Linked DNA regions of Homo sapiens: region 1 is linked to region 2. The links are contacts of gene promoters, found by promoter capture Hi-C in blood cells and fetal thymus (Javierre and others, 2016). All regions are on one chromosome and are shown on one strand. Each heading gives the region's core, a stretch centred on a gene start or on the middle of the fragment in contact. The rest is flanking DNA. Distances are from core to core; before and after follow the strand shown.

Region 1 (2,700 bases), core at 109-2,608, 390 kb before region 2:
AGAGGAGGGCCAGGGATGGAGCTAAGATCTGCTTGACACTGAAGCAGCAGCCTTGGAAGAAGGGAAAGAGAGGAGGAAGTGCCCAGCCACACGGGTACCCTGGCACCAGCCACGGTATCATCTTTCCATAATCCTGGATTTTAGCTGCTACATTAAGCAAGTCTCCCTTTGCAGATCCCCTAAGGCAGCCTCCCCGAAGCCGATTTAGGAGCAGAGGTGTGTAGACATAAAGGTGCCGGTGATGCCAGTGATGGCGGCTTGTCCCCAGCTGTAACTGGGTAGAGGACAGTTGGGCTCTGGTGTTGGGAACCAGGCCGTTGATGCCTCCAGCACAGCCAGAAGGAGAAAACCCTGGCTAACAGGAGACCCCTTCATGACCTCCTGGCCTTCCTACAGCCCTCCTCCAGGTTCTACTACTGGGACCCATGCTGGCACCCCTGGATGTCTCCCGTGCCAGCTGGCTGGGACTGCTCCCCCACCCCTGCTGCCCTCTCTCTGTCCGGCTGGCCTGAGCAGGCTCCTCGTCCTGCCCCGCCACCGCTGACAAGTGCTGACTTTTCCTCCCCTTCGCCAGGCTTTCCTGAACAGGCTGCCTGTGTTTGGGGCTGGGAGGGGCTGGGGGGGAAGAGGCACTGTGACGCCTCTCATCCTGGCCAGCCAGCGTGGCCGCCTTCGGGGCAGGCAGTGGGATGCAGCCTGGGATAGCGGAGTTGGCTGCTACGACCTGGTGGATCTTCATAAGCAGGCCCTACTTGGGTTGAGGAATCAAGGCCCAGAAGAACAGTATGGCCTAATCTAAGCCATCGCCTGCTCAGCAGAATGGGATCCCACTAGGTCTCACCTCGGGCATAAGACTGGCCCCAGAGTTGGGGCTTTTAAGGGTTTGAAGGTCTCTGATGTTTCTGCAAACCTGAGCAAAAGTTTGCGCCCTTCTCCCAATCACACCGTATTTTGCAGACAATTTCAGAGGTCTGCAAAACCCTCGCCCCACCTTTTCTTTTTCCTGAGGACTCTCCTTCTGAAATAGCTGCCTTCCTGATGTGGTGGCTGGACCAGGGAGTGTCCCCAGAAGGCCCACAACAGGAATCTGAGGGAGGCTACTTGACGCCTCATTAAAACATTCCGAAGAAAACCCCAGTTCCTCGGAGGGCTCGGCACCCTCCTGCTGCTCTGTCCATAAGCCGTTTCAAGAGCTGAGGTGAATGTGTTTAAGAGCAGGTGATATAAAAAGCTTCAACAAATCAATACGAAAAAGACAAATAACCCATAGAATGATGGTTAATGGCCCCGAGCAAGCTCTCACTGTAAAGCCCAGAAGTCACTGGTAATCAGCAAATTAAAATGACAAGAGACACCATTTTCACCTATCCAAGCAAAGGTGAAACACAAAGAATCCTCTTAACATCCTATGAGACAGTGGGTGTGGGCAGAGAGGCCCTCCTGGTTGGTCTTGGTGTTGTATAAGTACAAAGCAGCACAAGCTTTTTAGAGGGCAATTTGGCCATGCTATTAAAATAAAAAATATGTATATTCTCAGGCCCAGCAATGACAAAATCTAGAAATATCCTACTAGGAAATAGTCACATGGGGACACTAGAGGGCATTTCAAGGAGCTTCCCTGCCACCATCTGGAATCACGCACATATAGACACACACACAAATTATGCAGAAATGATCTAAATGTACATTCCTATGGACTACTTAATGAGTCCCAGGTTTTGGAATACTATGCAGCATTTAAAAATATAGATTCATATTTACTGAAATGAAGATCTCTAAGACACACATTTACGTCAAAATATGTATGTGGCAGAGCCCTATCTAGAAACCGATGCCATTTATTTAAAAACAACCAGACAAATAGAAAATGACAAAATTATCTACTTGATATGTACACAAAGAGGTACCATTTGGAAACACACAGAAAGAGGAAGGAGAACGCCCCTCTACCCAAACTGCTAAAAATGGTTTTCCCTAGAAGGGAACTGGGGCTTGGGAGTGATCAAGGAGGGCTTCTGTTTAATTTTTATTGATTGACTCTCTCTCTTTTTTTTTTTTTTTTTTTTTCAGAGACAGGGGCTCACTCTGTCACCCAGGCTGGAGTGAAGTGGCATGATCGTAGCTCATTGCAGCCTTGAACTTCTGGGCTCAAGCAATTCTCCCTCCTCAGCCTCTCAAGTATCTGGGATTACAGACTTGTTTGACTCTTTTATAAGAACATATTCATATATCAGTTGTGAAGTTAAAAATTAACAAAATAACAGAAGGATTTAATTTTTTTTTTCTTTTTTACAGAGCCTCTGTCGCCCAGGGTGGAGTGCAGCAGCGTGATCTCGGTTCACTGCAACCTCTGCCTCCTGGGTTCAAGCGATTCTCCTGCCTCAGCCTTCCAATAAGCTGGGATTACAGGCACGTACCACCACGCGTGGCTAATTTTTGTATTCTTAGTAGAGATGGGGGTTTCACCATGTTGGCCAGGCTGGTCTCGAACTCCTGGCCTCAGGTGATCTGCCCGGCCTCCCAAAGTGTTAGGATTACAGGTGTGAGCCACTGCACTCGGCCATGATTTAATTTTTAAAAAAGAAAAAAGAAAGAGAAAACCCAGAGTGAGACATGAGGATCTCCTGCCAGCAGCAAATCTCGTGCTGCTTTTGAGGAAGGAATTCAGTGCAAAGGTCTAAAGATCTGGGTTCAAATCCT
Region 2 (2,700 bases), core at 112-2,611:
CAGCTCTCTCCTCCTCTGCTTCGGTGACCTTGGGAGCCACGTGTAAGGTTAAATCAGTGATATTTCCAGGTTTATTTGTCACTGTGGCTGAGCCCCCGATGCCTGGATACAGAGAAATTAGGCTGCAGGTGGTGAATTGGAGGGGGCTGGGAAGAGGGAGTTAGTCCAGGGTGTGCTCCTGTATCTTGACTCTAGCCGCAACCCACAGGGTGAATGCAAGGTTGAAATGAGAGGGAGAGGCCAAGAAGCTGTGATCACTGTGAGAGGACCTTGCTGGGAGTCACCCAGAGTCAGCAGTGCAGAGGGGCCTGGGCCCTGTTCTGAGCAGAAGTCCACTGCCATCCCCTGGGTCTCAGTGCTCTGTTCCTGTGCTTGTTCAGAGTTCAAACTTCCCATGGATAAATGGACTGAGACTTTGGTGCAATGCTCCCTATGGCAGCTCCTGGCCTGGGATAGCCATAGGCCAGTGGGAGAGCTCTGCCCCCTCTATGTAGACTCTCCCTGGGAGGGGACAGCGGGTGGGACCCGGCCTCCACCCTCTGTGCACTGTGGGCAATCAGCCCCAAGCCTTGGGGCTCCCCATTTCCACCTGGGAAAGAGAGGATGAGGCTTAGGATGATTTCTAAGACTCCTATTTTAAAAAGATTCTATCAGCTCAGAGTAGAGAGGGGCAGGATTGCTGCCTGTTGCCCAGGCCCCCTGCTCCTCCGGCCTCCCCCGAGGGTGTCTGCTCAGTGCCGTGAGTCTCTCCTCCTAGGGGCTCCAAGGTGGGTCCAGCAGTCTCCCTAGGCATGGGGCACATGCACCGCCCGTGGGTGCAACAGCTGCCCTTCCTCCCCTCCCCTTTCCTGGCTGCTCCCTCTCCCCACCCCCACAGACTGATTTCTCTGTATCCAGGCATTAGCTCACAAGGGTGCTCAGGCCTGCTCTTGCTTTGGGGTTCATTGTAATAGTGAAAAAACGATCTTTAATGAAGTTACAACTTCTTGGATGATGGGCATCTTATTACCCATAGTCTTCAATTTGAAAGCACAGAATAGAACAAGAAAAGTAACAGGTATACCTAGTAAGAAATGTGCAAGAATTTTCTGGAACGTGTACCATCACATTCCCCCTCACCTGGCGAAGGTCCACTGCTGGTATTGCATCCAGCCTGGCTTCAGGACGTTGGGAAGAAGGCCCTTGTCTGGTCTCAGGGTCCACCTGTGCCATGGCTTCACCTCCCGCATTAACTCCTGAAACATTTGCTTCCACACTTCTGTGTCCCCAGCCATCTCTGGGGCTATGGTGTGCCTGGGTGGGTCGAGCTCTCCTGGGCCCTGGCAGGTCTGTAGTGGGAGATGAGGTTTCTGACTTCAGAGGGCAAGGACTCAGACCTGCCCTCCCTTTGAGGACCTGGATTGGGCCCATGAACCATGTCTCTGCCCCAAGGACAAAGGTCAGTTGGCTCCAAGTTCAGAGGATGGCACTAGGCTCCACAAGGAATTTCAAAAGACACAGAACTTGTGATTTTATTCATCAAAATGTTGCCAAAGAAGAGCTCTAAACTCCAAATCAGGAGGAGTGAATTTCAGTCTGGCTCCGCTGTCTACCTGCCTGTGACCTGGAACACATCTTTTCACTTCCAGCACCACTGTAAACGGTGGAGACAGGCTACAGGTGTTCTTTCCAGTTCTAACATTGGAAAATCCTTCTCCATCAGGCTGCTGTGCTCATGCTGGGGAGGAGAGGCACAGGGAAGAAGGATGAAGTGGTCCTGGGACCTCAGCGGGATTCGGATTCCCATGTCCTTGCTCCATGCTCTTTACGTTCCGGCAGACAGCCAAGGCTGCCCACCCATGAGAAACCAAAGCTGATGCAATCACTGTTTGCCCAGGCGACAGGTACAAGGGCACAGGTCGGTGAGAGGCCATTAGCCCTAGGCAAACCCAGAGTCACTGCCCTCCTTCCTGAGGGGGTTCTCCATCCTCTGCTTCCTGCAAGAGAGGATTGAGGAGGAAGAGGGGAGATTAGGGAGTGGGTACTGGAGTGGGCAACACTCCAGGAAGGTGCACAAGACTCTGGGTGTCCGCATCCCAAGACCCGTCCACAAACTGCATGTGTCTTCCTCGGGGCCAGGCACTGACCTATGTCCCTGGCCACCTCCCAAGAGGAGGAGAGGAAGGAAGGGAGCAGAGCAGGAAGGAAAAAGGAAAGGAGGCTGGGGATGCAGGGGGATGAGGAGGTCTTCCAGGGCAGTTGGAAACAAAGCCACCTCCTTCCTCCTCTCCAGCCCAGCTGCCTGCAGCTCTTGCCCTTGGGTTTAGCTCCTCGGCAGGCTCAAGTCCTGGGTCTCCCCTCTTTCCAAGCCAGTTTTGTTTCTCAGCATTAGAGCTGTCCCTCAGTTCCAGGTGGATTGGTTCCAGCGCCCCCTGCAGATAGCAAAATCCTCAGATGCTCAGGTCCCTTATACAAAATGACATAGTATTTGCATATAATCTATGCACATCCTTCTGTATACTTTAATTGATCTCTAGATTACTTATAATACCTAATACAATGTAAATGCTATGTAAATAGTTGTTACACTTTATTGATTTTAAACTGCTAACTAAAAATAAGTTCCTAAGCCCCCAAACCAACTGAATGGACTAGCTTTTGGCCAAGGGGACCCCTGAGAAACCTGAAAAACTAAATTCCCAGCTATGACAGGAGGGGAGG

The links. The method cuts DNA at HindIII sites, captures the fragments that hold promoters and counts their contacts. A CHiCAGO score of 5 or more calls a contact.
Region 1: a contact is called between a fragment that was not itself captured here and the fragment with the promoter of RTP3 in region 2, in 2 of 17 cell types (M0 macrophages and M1 macrophages). The highest score is 7.8, in M0 macrophages.

Annotation. Positions count from the first base shown.
Region 1 is chr3:46,886,824-46,889,523 of GRCh38, reverse strand. The region is part of intron 3 of PTH1R (parathyroid hormone 1 receptor); the gene reads right to left. Among named protein-coding and RNA genes, the nearest start is that of PTH1R, 10 kb to the right of the region's middle. RefSeq lists enhancers at 124-881, 882-1,639. The HindIII fragment of the contact is 250 bases long and covers 1,234-1,483 here.
Region 2 is chr3:46,496,637-46,499,336 of GRCh38, reverse strand. RTP3 (receptor transporter protein 3) reads right to left here and starts at 1,361. Exons shown (of 2, transcript NM_031440.2): 1 at 1,120-1,361. The coding sequence starts at 1,274. The HindIII fragment of the contact is 6,166 bases long and covers 1-2,700 here.